Regions from separate parts of the Homo sapiens genome. Here all the other regions are linked to region 2. The links are contacts of gene promoters, found by promoter capture Hi-C in blood cells and fetal thymus (Javierre and others, 2016). All regions are on one chromosome and are shown on one strand. The core of a region is centred on a gene start or on the middle of the fragment in contact, and the rest is flanking DNA. Distances in the headings are between cores, read along the strand shown. Region 1 has its middle 6.7 kb from the start of PKP3. Region 2 holds the start of SCGB1C1 (secretoglobin family 1C member 1). Region 3 has its middle 20 kb from the start of IFITM3.

Region 1 (3,869 bases), core at 219-2,718, 190 kb before region 2:
AACCCCCTCCCTGTGGTGCTTGAATGATCACACTCCTTGTCCACTTTCATGCTCCTCCCGTACTCCTGGTTCCTCTTTGAAGTTCGTAGTAGATAGCGGTAGAAGAAATAGTGAAAGTCTTAAAGTCTTTGATCGTTCTTATAACTGCATAGAAGACAACACTGATGTATGCTGCCTTTCCTCTCTACTTCGGCTACCTAAGAGGGAAGGGTCACCGTAAGGTGACTTGCTTCACCTTATCACTTAGAAGATTCACCCTCCTTATCCTGCCCCCTTGTCTTGTATGCAATAAATATCAGCGCGCCCAGCCGTTCAGGGCACTACTGGTCTCCGCGTCTTGATGGTAGTGGTCCCCCAGGCCCAGCTGCTTTCTCTTTATCTCTTTGTCTTGTGCCTTTATTTATTACAATCTCTGGTCTCCGCACATGGGGAGAACACCCACTAAGCCCCGTAGGGCTGGACCCTACAGTCCCCAAGGCAAACTGGACAGGGTCAAGGTGGCCTCCCTGCACTGTCTGGAAAGCCCCTCCTGAAGGACCCTCCTCCCTGCACTGTCTGGAAAGCCCCTCCTGAAGGACCCTCCTCCCAGGACTGTCTGGAAAGCCTCCTGAAGGACCCTCCTCCCTGCACTGTGTGGAAACCCTCCTGAAGGACCCTCCTCCCTGCACTGTGTGGAAACCCTCCTGAAGGACCCTCCTCCCTGCACTGTGTGGAAACCCTCATGAAGGACCCTCCTCCCTGCACTGTCTGGAAACCCTCCTGTGGGGCCCTAGCCCAACACATTTGCAGCAGTCACAGGTGTATCTAGGGATCCTGGGGTCCATGAGCCCACAGGGCAGCTGTTAAGAGCCTTTGCCTTCTTCCTATATCTCCTCTCTCTTTTCTGGACTTCCTCCCGGTTCCCACTGGAAAAAACTGAGGTGGCCCCTCCCAGGATGCCCCCAAAGTACCATCTGGTCCCACAGCCCATTCCCGCATCCTCCTTCTGACATCAGGGGCCGCCTGTGCAATGAACTCATCTCCTCATCCCCTAGGACCAGCCGTTCATTGACTGAGTCAGGAGACAGAGAGGCACACTTCACCAAGGCCCCTGCCATCCCCCAGGAAGGCAGTGGGGCCAATCCCTGCTCTACCATGGACAGCCTGGTGCAATCAAGAGGCCCAGCCCCTTTCTCTCATAAGCCCTCCAGCCAAGTGCAATGAGAAGCCCAGTCCCATTCCCTCACAAGCCCTCCAGTATCACATCTGAAAGTGTTTCATCCTCCATTCTCCCATTTTATCACTGGGGTCCCATTTAGGGTCCTCCAATGGTACTGCTATTCATCCAATTGGATAAAGCTTCTCTTCTTCCCTGGCCCTATATAAGATATACAGCTCATCCCCCAAATTCTCTGCCGCTTGCGGGGTGGCCTGCTTTTCAGCAGTCAGGGTTTGATTCAGAAGTAACATGATATCCTTCCAGGAGAGCTCAAATACTTGGGTTAAGTTCTGGAAAGCCTCCATGTATCTGTCAGGGCCATCTGAAAACTTGCCAAGATCCCCCTTAATTTGACTCAGAATGGCCTAAAATGAGGATTTCTAGGCTGGGGAAAGCTTGAGAGAGAACCTGAGTAGGGAGGAGTGAAGGGTTTGATTCCTCCACTGGAGGTGCCTCTGGGGTTTGCTTCTCTATTTCCCTGGGATTGCCTCTTGCAGCCTCTCCTGAGATGGCCACCAGGAGGGCTGGATCAATCCTACAGTAGAGGCAAAGGTCCAAGTTACCCTGCAAGGCAAAGAAAGCCTGCACACACGAGGCCTGGGATCACTGGCCCTCACATTTACAGAAAAGCTTCCTCCCAAGACCATGCTTCCCTTCTGTGTCTTACACTTACAGAAAAGCTTCCTTCCTGAGACCATGCTTCTCTTCTGGGTCTCACGTTTACAGAAAAGCTTCCTTCCTGAGACCATGCTTCTTTTCTGGGTCTCAAGGTGCTTGGCACCAAGTTGGCGGCCAAGGAAATAACAAGAACATTTTTGCCACAAATTTACATACAGATACCAAGGCACACTTTACTTCGTCTGTGCTATTCTTAACCTTCCATTTTATAGTTTTGATGACTCAGTCAAATGCTCATTCTACCCAGTAATATTTCTGGTTTGCAACAACATCCTTAACATTTAACATTGTACATAAAGAAGAGATAGGAACCATGACAGCCACAAAAGAAAGACAGAAAAGAATGATAGGAAAGAGTGGAGGTCTTTGTGCCAACACCCTCATGGGAGGCTGGGGACTGGAGTCAGTCCAGGGGCCTTTGGATAACTCCAAGGGGTAACCTCAGCCAAATACCCCCAGTTGCTCTAGGACCTCCTTCTGGTCCCACGTGACAGCTAGACCTCCATGAAGGAAAACTGGGTTGGAACAAAGCCAACATTCCCAATACCTGAGGGTGATGGGGGCTTGACAGTGTCCTCCCCAGCAAGCCTGGCCTCCATGTGTTGAGTCTGGTGCTTGGAGACTAGTCGTCACTTTTAACTAATTGACAGAGGCCTGGTATTTTTCTTTCATTTTAGCTGTTGAGTTTAAGGACCACGAAGAAAGGACAGAAAGAGAAGATCCACTTTTACTTACCCTTGTGCAGATCCCAGACGAGCCCCCAAACATGTTGTGGGATATTTGGGGTGTTGCTTTTCTGGCCAGAAACCTCTGTGGCCAGGAGCACCTTTGCCTGAGTTCTTGTCCTGTGTCCAGGAAGAATGAGGTACACAGACAAGTGGAGGGTGAGCAAGACGAAGAGGAGCTTTATTAAGTGTCAGAACGGCTCAGAGGCTCTCAGCAGAGAGGAGGCTGGGAGTGAGTGGCTCCTCTCTGCAGGAAGGTCGTCCCAACGAGTGTTCAGCTCTCAGCAGAGAGGGCAGCTCCTCTCTGCAGTTGGTCGACCCAATGCCTGCAGCTATCAGCAGAGAGGGTAACTCCTCTCTGCAGTTGGTTGACCCAAGGCCTGCAATGCTCAGCAAAGAGGAGGCCCTAGTGAGGGTAGCTCCTTTCTGCAGCTGGTCATCCCGTCGTCTCTCTGTCCTCTTCTCCACTCTGGCTGAACCCAGGGCTTTTATGGGCCTCAGAGGGGAGGAAATTCATGCCAACTGGTGCATGGGCAGCCATGGGTGGGCCCGGAAAAGGCACCACAAGTCCCCACTGTGGTCCTCAGGACTGTCAGCCTGGCCCCCAGCCTTCAGGCCCACCCTGGCTTGAAGGTGGAGCCTCACCAGGGACCTGCCCATTCCCTCCCAGGAGCCTGTCTGCCTCCCACTGCCGCCCATGGTGCCCAGGCCGCTCGTGCCAAGGGGTGCCCACAGGCCAGCACTGAGCTGCCCCCAGCTCCATCTTGGCCTCCCTCCCACACTCATTGGTGCCCAAAGTCTGGAGGGGCTGAGGTGGCAGGGGACTGGCATCTCGGCACTGCTCTGAGGGTGCACACCCGGCTGGGCTGCAACAACACCCGGGCTTGGCCCCGACCCCACTCCAAGATCAGAGTGGGCGCCAGGAGCAGGGACACCCCCAAGCCTGTGGTGTTAGGGGGTCCTCCCTGGCCCCCAAGACCACCAGGAGGCCTGGGTCCACACAGCAGCAACCTGGCTGGCTGCAGCTGCCCCCGTGGTGCTCCCGCCCTGCCAACCCTGCACAAATAAACCCACTGCTCCCAGGGCTGGTTCCACGAGACCCGGCTGTGCCTTCAGCTGGGTGCTCACGGGCTCCCGGGACACGGCAGGAAGCGAGGTTGAGGTGGCTGTGGGGGTTCCAGGCCTGGGAGTGGGTCTTGCCCGGCTGTGGGGGTTCCAGGCCTGGGAGTGGGTCTTGCCCGGCTGTGGGGGTTCCAGGCCTGGGAGTG
Region 2 (4,193 bases), core at 129-2,628:
TCCACTTAGGCACCGTCCTGACTGCCCAGCACTTGCACCTGGAAGGCAGACACATGTGGACTAAGAGGGCTGTGCTCAATAAGTGGAGAGCCACAGCTCCATCAGGCAAGCAAGGCCCTCAGTGGGGGGGGGTCTGGCATATTGCTGCCTATCTCCTCCCAGCAGCTGGGAGGTGTGTGTGCACATGTGATGGTGTGCACACATGTATGTGTGTGCATATCCCAGTGTGAGCATGTGGGTGTGAACGTGTTTATACATGTGTGCACGCAGTGTACATTTCATGTCTGCACCTGTGTTTGGATCTCTGTGTATGTTCACATGTGTGCATGGAGGAGTATCCCACAGACTGGGGAGGAGGTCTATGGAGTCTGGGGGCTGCTCGGTGGACAGGAGGTCTGGGGTGTCCACCTGAGCTGGCTGATGCGGGTGCAATGTCTGTGGGTGGTGGATGTCTGTGGGTGGGGTAGGCTGTGTGGGTGCTGTGTTGGGTGGTCTTGGTAAGGCTGCAGATCTTTAGAAAATGGGGTGCCCGCCGCCCTCATACCAGCAGCTTGACCAGCTCCGCCTTGTGCATTGGCTGCAGGCCATCTATACAGGACTTGAGTTCAGTCATTGCTGCCTTGGCATCTTCGTTGACATTGTACTTGCCCAAGGTCCCCTCATAGAGCTCCTCTGGGGTCCCCACCAGTAGTGTTTGCAGGAAGTCCATGAAAAACTCATCGTTGTCCTCCCCTGTGGCCATCCCTGCATCACGAGCGAGATGATGCCAGGACAGGACAGGGTGACTCTGGTGCAACCACAGCCCTGGACCTGCCCCAGGGCTCCAACCTCCATGGTCTCCAGACCTTCCCCTTCAATGCCCACCTCTCCTCCCCAGGGCTTCCTCCACAACACCTCCAACTCCACCTTGCCCGAAGACCCCTCCACATCCCCCTTAATCTTAGCTGCTCCAATTTCCACTCAGCATTCCCTGGGATCACCAGGGAAGGAAAGTTAAGCTCCTGGTGTGGGGGAAATTTCCCCTGATGAGAGGCTATTATGACCAGAGGCTTGAAGGGTCAGGTCAGGCTGGACTGGGCTGGGGTAGGAGACACTGGGCTGGTGTTGGGTCAGCTGGGCTTTGTCCTTGGTTGGGGTGGAGTAGGGTGGGCGCGGGTTCTGCAGGGTCCTTGCCCACTTCTGTGACAGAAGCAGGTGGAGTGTTCACTGCAGAGGCCCGATGCCAGGATTTTACCTTCTCAGGTACCCCCCACTCCCCCCCACCCCTGAATGTTCTGGAAACCCCAGTGGCACAGACTCACGGCAGATGCAGAACAGGGTGAGGGCCACCAGCAGGAGGGCACGGCTCCCCTTCATGCCAGCAGTCTCAGGAGCTGCCTCCAGCCAGAATCCCGGGATTTTATGCCTCACCGGACAGCACCTCTCCTAGAGGGCGGACCGGACCTGCCCATTAGGACCCGGCAGCCAGCTTAGATGAGGTTTGTTCACATCCCTGGCCCCCAGTGGGTGCCAAGCAGCAACAGGCATGGAGTGGCTGTGTGACAGGTGGTTGGCAAGCGGCTTTAGGGTGTGTGAGAGAGAGAACAGGTGTGTTAGGAGGGAACACTGGTGAGAGGCCATGCCAACTGATCGGTGAAGAAGGCAGTGGGTCCTGGCCACCAAGGGCCTCTAGTCATGCCTGCCCTTGAGGCCGAGAGTGGTGGGATCTGGGGTTGGTCCCACGCCTTTCTTTTAAGGTGCGAATCCCTCCTCTTATCAGTGTGCTGTGTGATCTGGGTCTGCATCTGGGGGTCTCCAATCAGGCAGGGGCCCCTTACTACTCAGATGGGGTGGCCGAGTAGGGGAAGGGGGTGCAGGCTGCACGAGTGGACACAGCTGTAGGACTACCTGGGGGCTGTGGATCTATGGGGTGGGGAGAAGCCCAGTGACAGTGCCTAGAAGAGAGAAGGTGGCCTGAGAGGGTCTGAGGAACATAGAGCTGGCCATGTTGGGGCCAGGTCTCAGCAGGAAGTGAGGAATGGGACAGGCTTGAGGTACATCTTCCATCAGTAGCCAGGATAGCAAGGAGGGCTTGGGGTTGCTATCCTGGGGTTCAACCCCCCAGGTTGAAGGCCCTGGGGGAGATGGTCCCAGGACATATTACAATGGACACAGGAGGTTGGGACACCTGGAGTCACCAAACAAAACCATGCCAAGAGAGACCATGAGTAGGGGTGTCCCAGTCCAGCCCTCTGACTGAGCTGCATTGTTCAAATCCAAAGGGCCCCTGCTGCCACCTAGTGGCTGATGGCATCCACATGGCCCTGGGCCACACGCGTTTAGGGTCTCTGTGAAGACCAAGATCCTTGTTACATTGAACGACTCCTAAATGAGCAGAGATTTCCACCTATTCGAAACAATCACATAAAATCCCATCCTGGAAAAAGCCTGGGGGATGGCACTAAGGCTAGGGATAGGGTGGGATGAAGATTATAGTTACAGTAAGGGGTTTAGGGTTAGGGATCAACGTTGGTTAGGAGTCAGGGATACAGTAGGGTCACCGGTAAGGGTTAGGGGTTAGGGGTAGGGGTTAGGGTTAGGGTTAGGGTTAGGGGTTAGGGGTTAGGGTTAGGGTTAGGGTTAGGGTTAGGGGTTAGGGGTTAGGGTTAGGGTTAGGTTTTGGGGTGGCGTATTTTGGTCTTATACGCTGTGTTCCACTGGCAATGAAAAGAGTTCTTGTTTTTCCTTCAGCAATTTGTCATTTTTAAAAGAGTTTAGCAATTCTAACAGATATAGACCAGCTGTGCTATCTCATTGTGGTTTTCAATTGTAACCACATTGTGGTTTCAATGTGTTTACTTGCCATCTGTAGATCTTCTTTGGTGAGGTGTCTGTTCAGATGTGTGTGCATTTTTAGTTGGGCTGTTTAACTTATTGTTTAGTTTTAATAATTTTTTATATATTTTGAAGACAAATTCTTTCTCAGATGTGTATTTTGCAAATATTTTCTTCAATATGTGGCTTGTCTTTTTGTTCTCTTAACAAGGTCTCTTCCAGAGTATAAACTTTAAATATTAAGAAATCCACACTGTCACTTCTTTTGTGTATATCTACCTTTTGTGTCATTTGTTAAAATTCATTACCAAACCCAAAGGCAGATAGCTTTTCTTCTATTGTTTCTTCTAGAAATTGTATAGTTTTGCATTTTTAGTGTAAGGATGATTTTGAGTGATTATTTGTGTAAGTTGTAAAGTTTTCGTCTATATCCATATCATTTCTTATGGTTTCCAATTAATCGTTCCCTCACTATTTTTGGGAAAGACACAGGATAGTGGGCTTTGTTAGAGTAGATAGGTAGCTAGACATGAACAGGAGGGGGCCTCCTGGAAAAGGGAAAGTCTGGGAAGGCTCACCTGGAGGGACCACCAAAAATTCACATATTAGTAGCATCTCTAGTGCTGGAGTGGATGGGCACTTGTCAATTGTGGGTAGGAGGGAAAAGAGGTACCTATGCAGAAAGAAACACCCTAGAACTCCTCTGAAGATGCCCCAATCATTCACTCTGCAATAAAAATGTCAGAATATTGCTAGCTACATGCTGATAAGGCCAAAGGGGACATTCTTAAGAGAAACCTGGCACCATAAGTACAGATTAGGGCAGAGAAGGACATTCAAAAGAGGCAGGCGCAGTAGGTACAAACGTGATCGCTGTCAGTGTGCCTGGGATGGCGGGAAGGAGGCTGGTGCCAGAGTGGATTCGTATTGATCACCACACATGTACCTCAACCAACAGTGAGGAGGTCCCACAAGCCTAAGTGGGGCAAGTTGGGGAGCTAAGGCAGTAGCAGGAAAACCAGACAAAGAAAACAGGTGGAGACTTGAGACAGAGGCAGGAATGTGAAGAAATCCAAAATAAAATTCCCTGCACAGGACTCTTAGGCTGTTTTAATGCACGCTCAGCCCACTCCTCCCTATTTTTCTACAATAAACTCTTTACACTGTGTTTCTTTTCAATGAAGTTATCTGCCATCTTTGTATTGCCTCTTGGTGAAAATGTTTCTTCCAAGTTAAACAAGAACTGGGACATCAGCTCTCCCCAATAATAGCTCCGTTTCAGTTTGAATTTACAGAACTGATGGGGCTTAATAACTGGCGCTCTGACTTTAGTGGTGCAGGAGGCCGTCACACCGGGACCAAGAGTGCCCTGCCTAGTC
Region 3 (4,287 bases), core at 1,501-4,000, 150 kb before region 2:
TTTTGTATTTTTAGTAGAGATGGGTTTTCGCCATGTTGCCGGGCTGGTCTCGAACTCCTGAGCTCAAGTGATCCATCTGCCTCAGCCTCCCAAAGTGCTGGGATTACAGGCGAGAACCTCCATGCCCAGATGATTTTTTGATTGGCATGCACAGGCTGCTAAAAGACTAAATGAATCCCAAGTTGTCTCTCTAAAAGACTCCATAGAAAAAGGCAAATAGAAAACCAAAGCAGTTAATTGACAATGAAAAAGGGCATGTCTACTGACTCAGCACAGATGAGCCCTTCTCTCTTTCTCTCCATCTTGCTCTGCCAGATTGCTCTGAACTACTCACTTTTTTGCTCAGTAACTTTTATACCCCAGAGGCAAAAAGAAAGTTAGCCAAACTTTCATCGTGTTAGGCCTTTAGATCAACCAGGCCTTCCTTCTTTAACCACATTGACATCTTGATTAAAATCTGAGCTCAGAACAATAGTGAAAGGTTTCCCTGTCCCAGAAATTTGCTGATGATGTAGAATTATATCCTGGCCTATTCATGCTAACTCCAGGCATGGAAAATGCTTGCCAGTTCATCAGTAGGCGCCACCCTGAACTCAGTGATGGAGTTAAAAAGCATAAACTGGGCTGAGAAGCCTCTGATCTAGCCAACGTAGGCCCCAAATGTGCTACTCTGGCATAAAGATTATTTTGATCCAATTCTTTTGAGACCCTTTGTAAGAAAAATTTAATTCTATAAAGGAGATAGAAGTGGTGGCTCATGCCTATAATGCCAGCACTTTGGGAGGCTGAGGGAGGAGGGTTGCTTGAGCCCAGGAGTTCAAGACCAGCCTGGGTGACATAGTAAGAGTCGGTGTATTAGTCCCTTCTCTCATTGCTGTAAAGAACTATCTGAGTCTGGGTAATTTATACAGAAAAGAGGTTTAGGCTGGGTGTGGTGGCTCATGCCTTAATCACAGCACTTTGGGAGGCTGAGGCAGGTTGAGGTCAGGAGTTTGAGACCAGCCTGGCCAACATGGTGAAACCCCATCTCTACTAAAAATACAAAAATTAGCCAGGTATGGTGGCGTGCACCTGTAATCCCAGCTACTCAGCTGGCTAAGGCAGGACAATTGCTTCAGTCTGGGAGGTGGACGTTGTAGTGAGCTGAGATCGCGCCACTGCACTCCAGCCTGGGTGACACAGCAAGACTGTGTCTCAAAAAAAAAAAAGGCAAAAGAAAAGAGGACACATGGCTGGGGAGGCCTCAGGAAAGTTACAATCATGGCAGAAGGTGAAGAGGAAGGGGGCACGTCTTGCATGGCTGGAGCAGGAGGAAGAGACAGAAGGGGGAGGTGCCACACACTTTTAAACAACCAGATCTCATGAGAACTCACTATCCTGAGAACAGCAAGGGGTAAGTCTGCCCCCATGATCCAATCACCTCCCACCAGGCTCCTCCTCCAACACTGAGGATTACAATTTGACATGAGATTTGGGTGGGGACACAAATCCAAACCCTCTCACCCCATCTTTACAAAGAAATTTAACCAACAGTTTGAGGTTGCAGTGAGCTATGATCGCACCACTGCACTCCAGCCGGGTTGTAAAATAAGACTCTGTCTCAAAACAAAACAAAACAAAACAAAGTAAACAACAAAAAAAAAGAATGGAGAAAGCATTGATTTAAATCTACATCACAAAACTTACCTTTACTTAGCGTGCATTTCTGACCCCCATCTTGGCTTAATTAGCGCTTTGCTTGCTTTCTCTCTCTTTTTTCTTTTCTTTTCTTTCCTTTCCTTTTCCTTCCTTCCTTTCTTTCTCATTCCTTCCTTCTTCCCTTCCCTTTCCTTCCTTTCTTCCTTCCCTCCTTCCTCCTCTTTCCTTTTCCTTCCTTCCTTTTCTTTTTCTTTCTTTCTTTTTTCTTTCTTTCCTTCCTTCCTTCTTTCCTTGTTCTTGCTTTTTTCTTTCTTCTTTCCTTCCCTTCCCTTCCCTTCCCTCCCTTCCTTCCTTCTTTCTTTCCTTGTTCTTGCTTGCTTGCTTTTTTCTTTCTTTCCTTTCCTTCCCTTCCCTTCCCATCCCTTCCCCTTCCTTCCTTCCTTCCTTCTTTCTCCTTCTCTTTTTTTCTCTTCCTTTCTTTCTTTTCTCTTTCTCTTTCTTTTTTTCATTTCTTTCTTTTTTTCTCTTCTTCAAATGAAGATATTTAAGGCTGAAGTCTAAGTTCTGTGCCTTTGAGATGTAAATTTTCTACTCTGCTCAAACACCTGAGGGTTATCTCTTTGATATGCAAATTTTGGGAAGCCATCTTATGAGAAAAGAAAAAAAAAGAGCTATATGGAAATTGGGCAAATGAAAAACCTTAAGTCTTTCCCGCAAATATTAATAAAAGCTTTAATCATCTGGCAAGTAATTTTGACTTGTTCCATGTGCCAGAAACAAGATTTGAAGCCTATTGTTCTTGTATTAAACAGTGTGTTTTGTATTACTGTGCTTGGCATGTGGCTAAGATTTTAGAATGAAGCTGTAACACTCTAGTGTCTGAAGAGTGTGAAAAAAAAAAAGAAAGCTATATGATCTGCTTCTGTCTGTATGTTTATGTATGTCTATGTATACATGTACACGTGACATTTTCCTACTCTAGATTGCGTTGCCAAAATTAATTTATAAAAAAGTGGTATTTAATTGGCTTAAAGAAAAATATGAGCTTATATAAGTTGAGTTATCCTTAAACTCTTAGAAATATAGAAACTAACCCAAATGTTTTTTAAATTTCATGTCATCTGAGATTATAGTTGGTAAATAAATGCTATTTAAACTTTTCTGGTTTAATGAAATATTTAGAGTTGTCAGCATTAAATAAAACGCAGACACACAACTTTGGTTTTACCTAGGTTTATTAGGCAAAAACTTATGTTATCTCTGTTACAAGAGTTGCCACCAAGAAAAGCAATTTGATGATGTCTAGCCTTGTCTGCTGTTATGAAACATCTACTTAAAAGCAGCTTGCCGATTCTCTTTGGTAGCTTGCACTGTTAGAGTCAAGTTAAATTAAATGATGGTTATTCATCGACTATCTAGAAAGATATTTTTTAAACCTTATTTTTTTTGAATAACATAAAATACTGAAACTTTGATTGCTAAACATAAGCTTGTCTACTTTTGGCTTCTTATTATAGAAGTACTAAACATACTTGTCTCTGCCAGCAAACACATCCTGTGCCATATTGAAAAATTGTATGATAAAGAAACACACACTTCTAGAAATTATGACATGGTATATTCACAGATTTGCCAATCTGCAGAATGTTGGTATGTATGCAAAAAGTTGACAAGTGTTTACTTGCTAGTTTTCACTAGAAACCAAGGTTAATAGCTGGTGTGGTGGCTCATGCTTGTAATCCCAACACTTTGGGAGGCTGAGGTGGGAGGATCACTTGAGCCAAGAGTTCCAGACCAGCCCATCTCTACCAAAAATAAAAATTAGCTGGGCTGGGTGTGGTAGCTCACGCCTGTAATCATAGCACTTTGGGAGGCTGAGGTGGGTGGATCACGAGGTCAAGAGATTGAGACCATCCTGGCCAACATGGTGAAACCCCATCTCTACTAAAAATACAAAAATTAGCTGAGCATGGTGGTGGACACCTGTAGTCCCAGCTACTCGGGAGGCTGAGGCAGGGGAATCACTTGAACCCGGGAGGCGGAGGTTGCAGTGAGCCAAGATCGCGCCACTGCACTCCAGCCTGGGTGACAGAGTGAGACTCCTCTCAAAAAAAAAAAAAAAAAAAAAAAGCTGGGCATGGTGGCACATGCCTGTGGTCCCAGCAACTTGGGAGACTAAGGTGGGAAGATCACTTGAGCTTGGGAGGTTGAGGCTGCAGTGAGCTGTGATAGCACCACTGCACTCCAGTCTGGGCAACAGAAGAAGGCCCTGACTCAAAAAAAAAAAAAAAAAAAAAAAAGATAAGAAAAGCTTTTAAAGTTACTAAGTGTTTAGAATTCTAATTATATGGTAATTAAAATTACGAGAAATAATAAGGGAAGCAGCTCTGTATGCAGAATATACAAACAAAGGAAGGCGAATTTTGGGTAAGGAAAGTTATAAGAGGCTGGTTGTGGTGGCTCAAGCCTGTCATCCCAGCACTTTGGGAGGCTGAGGGGGGCGGATCACCTGAGGTCAGGAGTTCGAGACCAGCCTGGCCAACATGGTGAAAGCCCATCCCTACTACAAATACAAAAATTAGCCGAATGTGGTGGTGCACGCCTGTAATCCCAGCTACTTGGGAGGCTGAGGGGGAAGAATTGCTTGAA

The links. The method cuts DNA at HindIII sites, captures the fragments that hold promoters and counts their contacts. A CHiCAGO score of 5 or more calls a contact.
Region 1: a contact is called between a fragment that was not itself captured here and the fragment with the promoter of SCGB1C1 in region 2, in 4 of 17 cell types (endothelial precursors, naive B cells, M1 macrophages and 1 more). The highest score is 6.2, in endothelial precursors.
Region 3: a fragment that was not itself captured here is called in contact with the fragment with the promoter of SCGB1C1 in region 2 in 2 of 17 cell types (M0 macrophages and M1 macrophages); the score reaches 6.1 in M0 macrophages.

Annotation. Positions count from the first base shown.
Region 1 is chr11:385,603-389,471 of GRCh38, reverse strand. No RefSeq gene overlaps it. Among named protein-coding and RNA genes, the nearest start is that of PKP3, 6.7 kb to the left of the region's middle. The HindIII fragment of the contact is 255 bases long and covers 1,341-1,595 here.
Region 2 is chr11:190,263-194,455 of GRCh38, reverse strand. SCGB1C1 (secretoglobin family 1C member 1) reads right to left here and starts at 1,378. Exons shown (of 3, transcript NM_145651.3): 1 at 1,302-1,378; 2 at 545-744; 3 at 1-38. The coding sequence starts at 1,356. The coding sequence ends at 6. The HindIII fragment of the contact is 15,974 bases long and covers 1-4,193 here.
Region 3 is chr11:338,701-342,987 of GRCh38, reverse strand. No RefSeq gene overlaps it. Among named protein-coding and RNA genes, the nearest start is that of IFITM3, 20 kb to the right of the region's middle. The HindIII fragment of the contact is 759 bases long and covers 2,371-3,129 here.